Regions from separate parts of the Homo sapiens genome. Here regions 1, 2, 4 and 5 are each linked to region 3. Evidence: promoter capture Hi-C in 16 types of primary human blood cells and fetal thymus (Javierre and others, 2016). All regions are on one chromosome and are shown on one strand. Each heading gives the region's core, a stretch centred on a gene start or on the middle of the fragment in contact. The rest is flanking DNA. Distances are from core to core; before and after follow the strand shown. Region 1 overlaps PIWIL2 (piwi like RNA-mediated gene silencing 2). Region 2 overlaps PIWIL2 (piwi like RNA-mediated gene silencing 2). Region 3 holds the start of PEBP4-AS1 (PEBP4 antisense RNA 1). Region 4 overlaps PIWIL2 (piwi like RNA-mediated gene silencing 2). Region 5 overlaps PIWIL2 (piwi like RNA-mediated gene silencing 2).

Region 1 (2,700 bases), core at 177-2,676, 600 kb before region 3:
CTATATGTAGCTTTTATTCATGTCAGATCCAACTGGTATAACAGTAGTAGACATTCAAGACTGCCACAGGAAAACAGTAGCAGGTTACACAAACCTCTGATACTCATAAATGATCCAGCTTTTTTGAAATGTATTAACCAGTACACTTGTTCTCTCTTGCCTTGAATATGCAGAAAATAGAAAAATGGAAAAGTTCTGTTGCATTTTGTTATACTGTTTATCAAATCAAAATGGAAAAATTAACTCTGTTCTGTTGCATTTTGTTATACTGTTTATCAAATCAAAATGGAAAAGTTAATTCTGTTCTGTTGCATTTTGTTATACTGTACACATCAAATCATGGGCCATAACTGTAACTGTGCTTTAAGACCTAATATTACATAGTTACAGGTATTTTTTAAAGTTTATAAAATGTTTCCCTTTATTCTTATAACATGTATAGAATTTGAAGATGATTTTATTATATACCAAGACTAAGAAAGCCCTTGTTTCTGGGGTTTTAAACTACCTCTTAGAACTTTATTCTTTGACTTTCCACAGGAGTCTGTGGGTTTGGTCTCCATGTTCCGAGGCCTGGGCATTGAAACAGTTTCTAAGACCCCTCTGAAACGGGAAATGCTTCCATCAGGTATGTGGAAAACTAACTTGAGAAATTTGGTGGTATGTATGATTGGTTTCTTCTAAAATCCAAATGGTTTATTTTCAGAAACGTAACTGTGCTTTTTTTAAAAAAAAAAACTATACTTTAAAACACGTTTAAGTCATAGTCATTGCTGGGGTTCGGTTCTTTCTTTCAGGTAGAGGCATTTTAGGTCGAGGCTTGTCTGCTAATCTGGTACGCAAGGACAGGGAGGAACTCTCTCCCACTTTTTGGGATCCAAAAGTGTTGGCGGCTGGGGACAGCAAGATGGCAGAGACCTCCGTTGGTTGGAGTAGGTGGGTAAAGTTACCCTCTCAGGTAACTATCAAATTCAGATGGAATATCTCTGTAAGTTCAGAGAGCAACTCTAAGAAGAGTTGTGTCATCTCATAATCAATGTCTGGTTTTATATTAAAGAATGCATATTTCTCAAGAGTAGTCAGCAGCTGTTAACACAGCTAGGCATTGGAAAAGGGTAAGAAGTAGTTCTCCACTGGGCTGTTCAAAAATTCATTTGTCCTCTTAAAAAATTACCCTGATCATGGTGATTTTTTTTTTTTTTTTTTTTTTGAGATGAAGTTTTGCTCTGTCTCCCAAGCTGGAGTGCAATGCCTCAATCTTGGCTCACTGCAACCTCCGCCTCCCAGGTTCAAGCAATTCTCCTGCCTCAGCCTCCCAGGTGTCTGGGACTACAGGCATGTGGCACCATACCCAACTAATTTTTTGTATTTTTAGTAGAGACGAGGTTTCACTGTGTTCGCCAGGCTGGTCTTGAGCTCCTGACCTCAGGCAGTCCACCCACCTCGGCCTCCCAAAGTGCTGAGATTACAGGCATGAGCCCCACTGTGCGTGGACTTTTTTTTTTTTTTTTTTTTTTAAGGGATGGGGTCTCACTGTGTTGACCGGGCTGGAATGCAGTGGGGCAATCTTGGCTCACTGCAACCTCCACCTCCCAGGTTCAAGCGATTCTCCTGCCTCAGTGTGCCGAGTAGCTGGGACTACAGGTGTGCGCCACCACACCCGGCTTTTTTTTTTTTTTTTTTTTTTTTTTTGGAGACAGTCTCACTCTGTCACCAGGCTGGAGTGCAGTGGCACGATCTTGGCTCACTGCAACCTCCGCCTCACACCCAGCTAATTTTTGTATTTTTAGTAGAGACGGGGTTTCATCTTATTAGCCAGGTTGGTCTCAAACTCCTGACATCAGGTAATCCTCCCGCCTTGGCTTCCCAGAGAGCTGGGATTATAGGCGTGAGCCCCTGCACGCAGCCGTGGTGATTCTTTAATAACGTTGAGTCAAACTTTCTCCTCTATTCTGCTATGGAAGATGGCTCTGACAGTCAATAGCAGTTGGTGAATGAGTCATGGTGGCATATGTTGTGTTTTTTTTTTGAAATTCGTTCTATCTCTGTCACCCAGGCTTTAGTGCAGTGGTGTGATCTCAGCTCACTGCAGCCTCGACCTCCCAGGCTGAAGTGATCCTCCCACCTCAGCCACCCGAGTAGCTGGGACTACAGTTATGAGCCACCATACCTGGCTAATTTTTGTATTTTTTATAGTGCGGGGTCTCACTGTATTGTTTAGGCTGGTCTTGAACTCCTGGGCTCAAGCAGTCTCCCCACCTTAGCTTCCCAAAGTGCTAGGGTTACAGGCGTGAGCCACTGTGCCTGGCCTTGGCATATGTAGTTTGAGAGAATTTGAAACTTGGATCCCTTTTGCTGTCTCCTCCAGGAAGAGATTGTGGAGTTGGGGGAATAATCTGGATGGGACATAGCTATTATAAAAAACCCTGATTTGCCTCTCTCTCCACATTTCAGGACGCTTGGAAGAGGGAGTTCAGATGCGTCTTTATTACCACTGGGAAGAGCAGCAGGTGGTATCAGCAGAGAAGTGGACAAGCCTCCCTGTACCTTCAGCACACCGTCCCGGGGTCCCCCGCAGCTGTCATCACCACCAGCTCTGCCCCAGTCTCCCCTGCACTCTCCAGATCGCCCTCTGGTCCTGACTGTGGAACACAAGGAAAAGTAAGTCAGGAGCACTGCCTTCTCTACTTAGTAATGATC
Region 2 (2,700 bases), core at 75-2,574, 530 kb before region 3:
CACTGCAACCTCCACCTCCCAGGTTCAAGCAATTCTCCTGCCTCAGCCTCCTGAATAGCTGGGACTACAGGTGTGCACCACCACACCTGGCTAATTTTTGTATTTTTAGTAGAGACGAGGGTTTCACCATGTTGGCCAGGGTGGTCTTGAACTTCTGACCTCAGGTGATCCACCCACCTCGGCCTCTGAGAGTGCTGGGATTACAGGCGTGACCCACCGTGTCCAGCCCATAATTTAGGTTTTTGAGGGTAAGTATGAACACAAACTTAGAATGAACCACACTCCACTAGAATCAAAACTGAATTAAACTAAAGCACTTTTAAAGGGAACTTCCATTTTAAGTTGAAGTGAACTTACCCTCTTGAATTTTGTTGCCCAGGCTGGAGTGTAGTGGCACAATCTCAGCTTGCTGCAACCTCCACCCCATGAGTTCAAGTGATTTTCCTGCCTCAGCCTCCCAGGTAGCTGGGATTAGAGGCATGTGCCACCATGCCTGTGTAATTTTTGTATCTTTAGTAGAAACAGGGTTTCAGCATGTTGGCCAGGCTGGTCTTGAACTCCTGACCTCAGGTGATCCACCCGCCTTGGCCTCCCAACATGCTGGGATGACAGGCGTGAGCCACCGTGCCTGGCCCTTCTTGAATTATTGAAGTTGAACACAACTAGAACACAATTATATTCCCTAAATGGGGGAAAAATTATTCTTCAAATTGCTTCAAGCAAGCATTTAATTTAATTTGGACCCATAGACAATTCACATAGCTAGCTGTTTGCTAATTACTTAGTTACAGTAAAAATGTTTTACTGTATGTTTACTGTATGTTTTACACCATACCAGACTGTAGGGTAATATTTAGTAAAGGGACGTTTCACTTGTCAGCAACTTGGGATATTTCCAGTAGGTAAAAATCTGATGGCAGCGGATCTGTGGCATATGTGGTCATATGTTAGAATTTCTCTAACACTTTACCTTATTCTTTGCCCCGACAGTTATTAGTGTTAAATCCAAGTAGAAGGAAAATTGATTCAGCCTGCAGTTTTCCCAGCATTCCTTTGAACTTTGTTTGCATTGTTTGTGGATAAGCCGTATGCATGTGACTCATAACTTGCATGTTTTGCTTTCATGTTTTATAACACCTTTGCTGCACCAGGCGTGTTTTACTACCCCAAGGAAGTCTAGAAATGATTAGAAGCTTTTTTTCCCTGCCCTCTAGGCACAGTAGCTTTGGCACTAACTGCAAAAGGATCTGCCATGATTCCAGGCTACACAATGCGAGTGGGCCTCTCACTGACTGTGGTCCGTAGCCTGAGGGCTCTGTGAGTCACCACATCCTCGCTGTCATTTCAGGTGAACCACTGTCTACCAGAGAAGATTGTGGTGTACCGTGATGGAGTGTCTGATGGCCAACTGAAGACAGTTGCCAACTATGAGATTCCTCAACTACAGAAGTGTTTTGAAGCTTTTGAGAATTATCAGCCCAAGATGGTGGTGTTTGTAGTTCAGAAGAAAATCAGTACTAATCTATATCTGGCTGCTCCTCAGAACTTTGTAACTCCCACTCCTGGAACTGTGGTAGATCATACAATAACAAGCTGTGAGTGGTAAGTGAGCAAAATATGTAGTATTGGAGGAAGAATAAGTTGGAGATGTTGTCACTTTCCTGAGTATTGGAATGGGGAGGTTTCCTGGAGAGTTGTGGACTAGAATCTCAGAGAGGCTACCGTTAAAAGAATGAAGGTTTAAAAAATATTTAAGGGCCTGGCATGGTGGCTCACGTCTGTAATCCCAACGCTTTGGGAGGCTGAGGCAGTTAGATCACCTGAGGTCAGGAGTTCAATACCAGCCTGGCCAACATGGTGAAACCCTGTCTACTGTAAATAACAGAAATTAACCAGGTGTGATGGTGTGTGCCTGTAATGCCAGCTACTCGGGAGGCTGAGACAGGAGAATCGCTTGAACCTAGGAGGCGGAGGTTGCAGTAAGTCCACTGTAATCCAGCCTGGGCAACAGAGAGAGACTCTGTCTCAAAACGAAACAAAAAAGATTTAAAAACAAGAAAGCTTTTACCTCTTAAGTGAAAAGTTGAACATACCTTGTTTTGCTAAGATAGCGTATGCTTAACTTCTACAGGAAGATAAGGGAGTTTCTACCACTTTTTTTTTTTTTTTTTTTTTTTTTTTTGAGGCAGGGTCTCGCTTTGTTGTCCAGGGTGGAGTGCAATGATGTGATCTCAGCTCACTGCAGCCTCAACCTGCTTAGGCCCAGGTGATCCTCCCACCTCAGCCTCCTGAGTAGCTGGGACAATAGGCGTATGCCACCATGCCCAACTAATTTTTGTATTTTTTGTAGAGACAGGGTCTTGCCATGTTGCCCAGACTGGTCTCGATCTCCTGGGCTCAAGCAATCTGCCTGCCTCAGCCTTCCAAAGTGCTAGGATTACAGGCATGAGTCACTGCACCCAGCCTGTTACCACCATTCTTCAGTAGCCTCTTGAGTCAGGAGACCTGGGTTCTAATCCTGGTCTGGCCTCTGTGTCCTTGATCCAGTCATTTGAGCTCTCTGAGCTTTAGTTGAAGGAGCTAGAACGATCTCCAGGATCTTTGCCAGCTCTGTCTGGCTGAATCCGACCATTTCACTGATTTATGGTTTTCCTTCCTAGGGTGGATTTCTATCTTCTTGCCCATCATGTACGGCAGGGC
Region 3 (2,700 bases), core at 136-2,635:
TTCTGTCTCTACCTCAACTTGCAGCCCAGGGGCACCTCACAAACGTGCTTCATCGATGACAGTGTATGTTTATAGCGCTTGTGTTGTTGTGAAAATAAACAGCACTTGAAGTGTAAAATTAGAAGTAAATAAATGAGTTAGGAATTATTTTCTCCACTGTTTAAACAAAGCTACTTCTCAGGTGGGACATTAGCTTCCTTGGAGCAAAGCCAAAATCTGGCTTGGTTAGCCAGAAAATGTAAACACATTTCTGTTAATGTTCAGGGTAGAAAGGAGAACCTCTCCCTTAACTGCTGTGTGAGGCTGGACTAGTTATTCAACCTCTCTGGGCCTTGGACCCTTATCTTTAAAATGAGGCTAATAGTGCCTCCTTCATTAAGTCTTTGCCAGGACTGAAATGTACATTTCATAGCATGATGCTTGGATCAGAAAAGCACTCCATATATATTAGCTATTTGAATTATGATTTGGGTTTCAGGGAGTTTATTCCACCCTTATAAACATATCAAGTGGACACCATGTTTTGGTCTTTTCTTTCCTCCTCAAACCAGGCTGTGCTGAATGGGAATCCTCAAACAGCCCTCAGCCTCAGGGATAAGGTGTCCCAGCCATTTCTACTGTAATGGCTAAGAGCCCTTTTTGTCCAGTCTCTCCCTGTCCTCAGTTGTCCAGGTGAGGACAGCTGACTTTGGAATAGAAAGATGATGGGGCTACGTGTCCTTATTGTGAATCAAAACGTCAGGTCCATGTTTTGATTCTGAGGTCAGAATCAAACCAACCTCCTGGTTGGTTGGCAGGTCCTTGGGACTTTTGTGCCTTCAAAATGTCAGGTTATTTGCCCTGACTCCAGTAGCCCAGCACGACCCAAGTACTACATTCTTGGGCAGAGCCAGCCAGAGCCAGGAGGCACTGACTTTGTCTCTCCGTAGCCAAATGGCTGGGAAACTAGCTGGGAGGAGAGGAGGTGAGGCCAGCAGCTTGTGAACACACGGGCGGGCTCACTGTTGGCAGCGGGGAGGAGGCTCCTGGGCTGGGCTGAGCCCAGCCACCCTCACCCCAGGGGCCCACCACCCCACCTCCCCACCTCCCCCTCCTGTTATGAAACCCACGGGGACAACCACACATGTGGGCAGCCGGGGGCTTTCCTCGAATTGACAACAGCTTCTCGCTGTCGCTCGGCAGAACATGAGCTGCTTACATAAACACTGCCTCAGAGACACCTGCAGTGTGGGACGCAGGGAGTCGGAGGAGGGTGGAGGGAGAGGCAGAAAGCTGCAGGGTGAGAGAACGGCTCCCCACCCCACCATGGAGGGGCCGTCTGTGCATCCATACACTGCACACGCGTGCGCAGACACACACACACACACACAGACACACACGAAGTTGGTTACTTTCTCAGCTGTAACCAGGAGGCAGGGAAGAAGGCAATGCAGTCCTCATTCTTTAGAGACTCAACCTGTGTCCCCAGCCCTCCCCACCTCCTCCCACACCCCCCTCCAAACTCAGCTTGGCTGGGAAAGGAAACTCCCCAGTCTGCTGTGCTCCTGCAAGCTGAGTGTTTGCAGGTGAATCTACTCCAGGTACAGGAGCAGCTCCTGAGGGAAAGGGGGTGGAGGGTGAGCATGGAGAGGGAGGGGGAGAGGGAGGGAGGGAGGGAGGGAGGGGCGGAATCCCTGGAATTTAAGGTTAGAGAATATAGTAGGGGACTGGCCTGGTAAGATGGTATTTGGGGGCCTCTACGGAAAACACATCCTGCAGGTCAGACCAGCATGGGCTCTGCGGGAGAGGGTGGAGGGTCAGTGCATGCTCAGTGGGAGGGCTCTGAGAGGTGGCAGGACCCGGCCGTGTGGCAGTGGCCTTGGGTTTCCAAGTGGTGCTTTCTCACTTTTCTGCCCGTCAGTTTACCTGACACACCAAGTGACTGAGATTGCTGCCTGTGAGTTACCCTATTGCTCATATCTAATCACAAAGCGCAGACAGGTGGGGAGGGCTTCCCTCTCCGGGCCTGGCACCTCTGGGTTTGGGTACTCTGGCCTCCTTCCTCTGGGATGCTCACTCGGACTCTGCTACTGGCCAGCCTGAGCAAGTCGGCAGAGCACAGGATCTCCAAACAGGGGTGCATTCCCTGGCTTCATCAGAGAGGAGGCTTGGAGCTCAGGGAACAGAGAGCAAACTGGATGTCTAGGCCAAGCTGGATGCCAAGGGGAAAATAGCCCTCCTTTTGAAAGTATTCTTGCATTTTAACTGTCATCACAGTTAAGCCACCACGGGCAGACCCTGGAGGCTGGAAGAGGGCATCCAGAATGATGTTGGGCTGGTTTCTTATCACAGAGCACCGGGTAGGGGGATGAGCTAAAAATTATAGTTCTTGTTCCCAGCTTAGCGTGGCTATGGGGCGGGTGGTATCTCCTCTGTGTTCCTTCATCTCTTTAGAGACTGAAAGAGAGGACAAGCCCTTCCCCATGGGAAACATTTTACTATGCTCTATCCTAATCTCATCTCAGAGCCCACTCACAGTGAATAGATCTCAGCTAGGAAGGGAAGCAAATATCCCCAGTGACGATGAAGACCAGACATGGAGGTTTAACTGATCTGTGTGAGGCCACAGAACGAGAGTGTGGCCTCAACGCTCTCAATGTTGACAGAACAGCACTCAACATATTGCATTGCGACATGTCTGCTTCTGGACTGCCTATCCCA
Region 4 (2,700 bases), core at 129-2,628, 570 kb before region 3:
CTAAAGACTCTGTTATTTCTGTGGCGTGCGGCTGCTGATGTCTTTGCTCGGTTTTTCCTTATTATCATTTTTTAACCTGGCTTCCTAGTGATCACCCCCTTGTCTGTAGAGCTTAGTCATTCGGATAATGATTTGGAGAGCAGTTATACTCAAACCCCATGACTCCATAAGGCTTCCATCTCTGCTAATGGATTTGTGTGTAGATTGAAGAATGCTTTCAAAATTAAATGTAGTTCTCCCATCTTTTTTGGCTTTTAACTCTCAGCTGAGATTTCTTGGCTCTCTTCTAAGCATAGATGGTTTCCCAGTCAGCCAAGGATGTGTGGCCTTCTATGGCTTTCTGATTACCAGGATTTAGCCCTTAAATTTCTAGTTGATGCACTGCCCACCTCAACTTAGACAACAAATCTAGGCTAACAGAACTTTGCTTTTCTCCATTGCCACTTGTAGTTGGCTTGCCATGGGTTCCCATCCCTACCCCTAGATTAAGTTTTCTCTATCTCAAAAGGTTGTACACTTTTTGGTTCTATTTCTGTAGGAGTCTCAAAATGACAAAGCTAGAGAATAGACTGGTAGTTACCAGATCTAGGGAAGGAGGGGGAGTGTGAATATAAAGGGCAGCAGGAAATAGTCCCTTGGTGGTGACATGCAACAGTTTGGTATCTGATTGTGGTAACCTATAGATGTGAGGAAACTGTATACACATACAAACACACCAGTGTATGTAAGTAACAATGAAAATGGAGTAAGATCTGTAGTCTAGTTAATGATATTATAGCAATGGCAGTTTTGTACATGAGACTCTATGTCCACATTTTGCAACTTTCTATGATTTGATGAGTATTTCAAAGTACGAAATTTTAAACAATTAATTTTAATTAATTTAGGGACAGGGCCTTACTTTGTCACCCAGGATGGAGTGCAGTGATGCTATCATAGCTCACTGTAGCCTCAAACTCCTGGGTTCAAGCCGTCTTCCCACCTCCCTCAGTCTCTGGAGTATCTGGGACTACAAGGTACGCCACTACACCTGGCTAATTTTTTAAGTTTTTTAGAGATGGGGTCTCGCCATGTTGCCCAGGCTGATGTCAATATCCTGGGCTCAAGCAATCCTCCCACCTTAGCCTCTCGAATAGCTGGGACTACAACTGTGAGCCATCATGCCTGGTAGGCCTATATTCTCTTATTTCCTGCAGTTCAGGCCCTCTTAAGCTTTTTCCTTTTTTTTCCCCCACCAAGGAAATAAGGTATCACTATGTTGCCCAGGCTGGTCTCCAACTTCTGGGTTCAAGCAGTCCTCCTGCCTCTGCCTCCTAAAATGCTGGGATTACAAGCGTGAGCCACTGCATCTGGCCAAGAGTCCCATCTTTTAACACAACTGGAGCCTTCTGGTGCTATATAGCTGTGATTAGATTCCTCAATTACTTGATCCCCTATCCCTTTCATACTGTTCTGGATATATACTGTGATCCAAAAGTCTTTTATCTCTTTCCAAAGGCATGCCATTTATCAGCAGAATAAAGAACACTTCCAGGATGAGTGTACTAAGCTTCTGGTTGGCAATATTGTTATCACCCGATATAACAATCGTACCTATCGTATTGATGATGTGGATTGGAATAAGACTCCAAAGGATAGCTTCACGATGTCTGATGGGAAAGAGATCACATTCTTGGAATACTACAGGTAGCAAGAAGAGACTGGGTTTGGGCCTCAGGGTGGGGGTTGGATGTAGTCCACGTTCTCCAGCAGATATTGAGTTCTGCAATAGCATACCACTTGACACTTTTCAAAATAATTGAATTGGTAATGTGTCTAACACTGAATGAGCTTGTTTGTGGGATTTGACTTGAGTATGCTACCATTATATCTTCAATTATTTTAGTAATTTGGAAGTTACTATATAAATTAAGGGCTTTGAATTGTTTTTCTGATTTTATTAGAAGTCTGGAGAGATTAAATTCAAGTCATTAATCATTTGACTGTCATTTCATGTTTCTATTGCCTGAACCCTTTAGCCTGATGTTTTTAACAAAGTCTTTCTTGAACTTTTAGCCTTATTTCTCCTATATTTAATTGCAACATAATTTGAGCCTGCTTTTTCCTGTTATAAATATATTATGATCGGTTTGCAGTGGCTCCTTGACAAGAGTATTATGCAAATTATATACCTCAGTCCTGGTTAAGAGACTCAGACTATGGTGCTCTAAGAGTATTGATGCTGCTTCTGAAATTTTTTCCTGCCTCTACTCTGCTCTAGCAAAAATTATGGGATCACAGTTAAGGAAGAGGACCAGCCATTGCTGATTCACAGGCCCAGTGAGAGACAGGATAATCATGGGATGGTGAGTAGGGCTGTCAGGCTTACAATTCCAGCTTAAGTTCTTCATCCTGTCAGCTGCTTTTAGCCGTCCTCATGGCTTTGTGGGAGCTGTGGAGTAGCAATCGTAGTGTAGTTGCGGAAAGCTGTGCAAGTGTTTGTCTGTCTCATCCAGCCAGAGGCACCACTCACACTGGTAAGATCTGCTTTAGAAGTCCCCACGAGGCGGAACTAAATATCCACATAAGCTATTAGGTTAAAGAGTTAAGGAGAATTTCCAGTGAAGGAAGATTAAAACTCTGAATCCATGAGGAAAGGTATAGATATTCATTTATTTATTTATTTATTTATTTATTTATTTATTTATTTGACGGAGTCTG
Region 5 (2,700 bases), core at 15-2,514, 550 kb before region 3:
CCCGGGTTGAAGCGATTCTCCTGCGTCAGCCTCCTGAGTAGCTGGGATTACAGGCATGCACCACCACGCCCAGCTAATTTTGTATTTTTAGTAGAGACGGGGTTTCTCCATGTTGGTCAGGCTGGTCTCAAGCTCCCGACCTCAGGTGATCCGCCTACCTTGGCCTCCCAAAGTGCTGGGATTACAGGCATGAATCACCATGCCCGGCTTGAATCATCACTGTTGTGAAGTATCTCATTGTGGTTTTGACTTGCGTTTCTTAATGACCAGTGATGTTGAACATCCTTCATGTGCTTGTTGCTCGTTTGTGTCATTCAAATCCTTTGCCCATTTAAATTGGGCTATTTGTCGTTTTGTTGTTGAGTCGTAGGAGTTTTTAAAATATTCTGGAAACTATACTCTTATCTGATGTATGATTTACAAATATCTCCCCCCATTCTTTAGATTTTCACTTGCTTGATAATGGTCTCTGCTGCACGAAAATTTTAAATTTTGATAACATGCAATTTATCTATTGTATCTTTTGTTCCTTATGGTTTTGGTGCTCAATCTAAGAATTCATTGCCAAATCCAAGGTCATAAAAGCTTGTCCCCTGTTTTTTTTTTCTAACAATGTTATACTTTTTAACTCTTACATATAAGTCACTGATTTGAGTTATACAAAGTGAGGTAAGGGTCCAGTTTTATTCTTTCGCATCTGGATATCTACTTGTCATAGCACCATTCGTTGAGAGAATTCCCCATTGAGAAATCTTGGCACCCTACTTGAAAATCAATTGTCATGGATGTTTGGGTTTATTTCTGGACTGCTAATTCTATTCCATTGGTCTGTGCATCTCATTTTATGCCAGTAACACACTGTTTTGATTATTGTTGCTTTGTAATAAGTTTTGAAATTGGAGAGTGTGAGTCTTCCAACTTTATTTTTCTTTTTCAGTATTGTTTTTGCTATTCAGTGCCCCCTTGGAATTGTATATGAATTTGAGAGAAGGTTTTTTTGTTTCTGCAAAAAAAGGCCATTGAAACTTTCATAGGGATTGTATTGAATATCTAGATTACTTTGAAGAGTATTGTCATCTTAACAATACTGTCTTCCAGCATATGGACACAGGATGTCTTTCTATTTATTTAGATCTTTTTAAATTTCTTTCAGCAGTGTTTTGTAGTTTCCATGTATAAGTCTTTACCTGTTTGGTTGAAGTTTATTCCTAGCTATTTTATTCTTTTGGATGCTATTGTAAATGGAATAGTTTTAATTTCATTTTTGGGTTGTTCATTGCTGGCATATAGAAACACAACTGTTTTTATGTGTTGATCATGTACCCTGTAACTTTTCTGAATGTGGTTATGAGCTCTAGTCGTTTTTTTTTTTTTTTTTTTAATTCTTTGGGATTTTCTAGATACAGAATAATGTCATTTGCTTATGGGAATGGAGTCTTCTTTCTTTTCAGTTTGAATTCTTTTTATTTCCTTTTCTTTCTTAATTTGCTTAGTTTATTTCCTTTTCTTCCTTAATTGTTATGGCTAGGATTTCTATTATGGTATTGAATAGCAGTGCTAAAATCAGGCATCTTTGTCTTTTTCCTGATAGTAGAGGCAAAGGTTTCAGTTTTTCACCATTGTATATGATGTTAGCTCTGAGTTTTTCATAAATTTCCTTTATCATGTTAAGAAAGTTTCTGCTCCTAATTTGCTGAGTATTTTTATAATGAAAGTGTGTTGGATTTTATCAGATGATTTTTCTGCATATTAACTTTTAACAGTCTTGTTCAGATTAATACCAAATTAATTTTAATAGTTGTGTCAGGCCATTCTTGCATTGCTGTAACAAGATACCTGAGACTGGATAATTTATAAAGAAAAGAGGTTTAATTGGCTCATGGTTCTGCAGGCTTTACACGAAGCATAATGCTGGCATCCACTCAGCTGCTAGGGAGGCCTCAGGAAGCTTACAGTCATGGTGGAAGGTGAAGCAGAAGCAGGCACTTCACATGGTGAAAGCAGGAGTAAATGAGAGAGAGAGAAAGTGAGAGAGAAGAAGAGGCGGTACACATTTTAAGTGACCAAATCTTTGTGTAAACTCAAAGCAAGAGCTCACTTATCACCAGGGGATGGCCCAAGCCATTCCTGAGGGATCTGCTCCTATAATCGAAACACCTCCCACCATGCCCCACCTCCAGTATTGGGAATTACATGTCAACATGAGATTTGGCAGGGACACACATTCAGACTGTAGCAATAGTATATAGAAACTTTGTTCCTGTATAGTTCTATTCTCTCCCACTTTCTTGGTGCTAATTCTGTATTAGCATTCCCCAGAGAAACTGGACTGATAGGGTGTGAGCATGTGTATAGATTTATTTTAACAAATAGGCTTACACAGTTATGGAGGCTGGCAAGTTCAAAATCTGCAGGATGAACCAATAGGCTGGAGACCCAGGGGATAGCTGATGTTGCAGGTCAGCTTTGAGTTTATCCTGCTTGGTGTCCCTTAGGCTTTGGGGATGTGTCCGTTAATGTTTTTCCTCAAATTTGGGAAATTTTTGTGTTAATTATTTACTCAGATATTCTTTTTGCCCCTTCCTCTTGTTCTTCTCCTTTTGAGACAGCAAATATTTATATGATGGTGTGTTTGTTGGTATCTCCCAGGTTTCAGAGGCTGTCTTCATTTTTCTTTCTTATTTCTTTTTCTTATACTGG

The links. Contacts are between HindIII fragments. The CHiCAGO score rates a contact against its expected background, and 5 or more counts as called.
Region 1: a contact is called between a fragment that was not itself captured here and the fragment with the promoter of PEBP4-AS1 in region 3, in 4 of 17 cell types (M2 macrophages, activated CD4 T cells, naive CD4 T cells and 1 more). The highest score is 5.3, in M2 macrophages.
Region 2: a contact is called between a fragment that was not itself captured here and the fragment with the promoter of PEBP4-AS1 in region 3, in 2 of 17 cell types (naive CD4 T cells and non-activated CD4 T cells). The highest score is 5.1, in naive CD4 T cells.
Region 4: a fragment that was not itself captured here is called in contact with the fragment with the promoter of PEBP4-AS1 in region 3 in 2 of 17 cell types (total CD8 T cells and naive CD4 T cells); the score reaches 5.3 in total CD8 T cells.
Region 5: a contact is called between a fragment that was not itself captured here and the fragment with the promoter of PEBP4-AS1 in region 3, in 1 of 17 cell types (naive CD4 T cells). The highest score is 6.4, in naive CD4 T cells.

What each region holds. Positions count from the first base shown.
Region 1 is chr8:22,280,580-22,283,279 of GRCh38, forward strand. It overlaps PIWIL2 (piwi like RNA-mediated gene silencing 2), which reads left to right. Exons shown (of 23, transcript NM_018068.5): 3 at 541-628; 4 at 798-936; 5 at 2,455-2,661. Among named protein-coding and RNA genes, the nearest start is that of PIWIL2, 6.6 kb to the left of the region's middle. The HindIII fragment of the contact is 5,060 bases long and covers 1-2,700 here.
Region 2 is chr8:22,351,611-22,354,310 of GRCh38, forward strand. It overlaps PIWIL2 (piwi like RNA-mediated gene silencing 2), which reads left to right. Exons shown (of 23, transcript NM_018068.5): 21 at 1,349-1,602; 22 at 2,661-2,700. Among named protein-coding and RNA genes, the nearest start is that of SLC39A14, 14 kb to the right of the region's middle. The HindIII fragment of the contact is 267 bases long and covers 1,192-1,458 here.
Region 3 is chr8:22,876,587-22,879,286 of GRCh38, forward strand. It overlaps PEBP4-AS1 (PEBP4 antisense RNA 1), which reads left to right and starts at 1,386. Exons shown (of 4, transcript NR_125433.1): 1 at 1,386-1,565. All of the region lies in intron 3 of PEBP4 (phosphatidylethanolamine binding protein 4), which reads right to left. RefSeq lists a silencer at 969-1,038. The HindIII fragment of the contact is 10,906 bases long and covers 1-2,700 here.
Region 4 is chr8:22,302,524-22,305,223 of GRCh38, forward strand. It overlaps PIWIL2 (piwi like RNA-mediated gene silencing 2), which reads left to right. Exons shown (of 23, transcript NM_018068.5): 11 at 1,498-1,686; 12 at 2,261-2,345. Among named protein-coding and RNA genes, the nearest start is that of PIWIL2, 29 kb to the left of the region's middle. The HindIII fragment of the contact is 337 bases long and covers 1,211-1,547 here.
Region 5 is chr8:22,327,458-22,330,157 of GRCh38, forward strand. All of the region lies in intron 20 of PIWIL2 (piwi like RNA-mediated gene silencing 2), which reads left to right. Among named protein-coding and RNA genes, the nearest start is that of SLC39A14, 38 kb to the right of the region's middle. The HindIII fragment of the contact is 1,363 bases long and covers 584-1,946 here.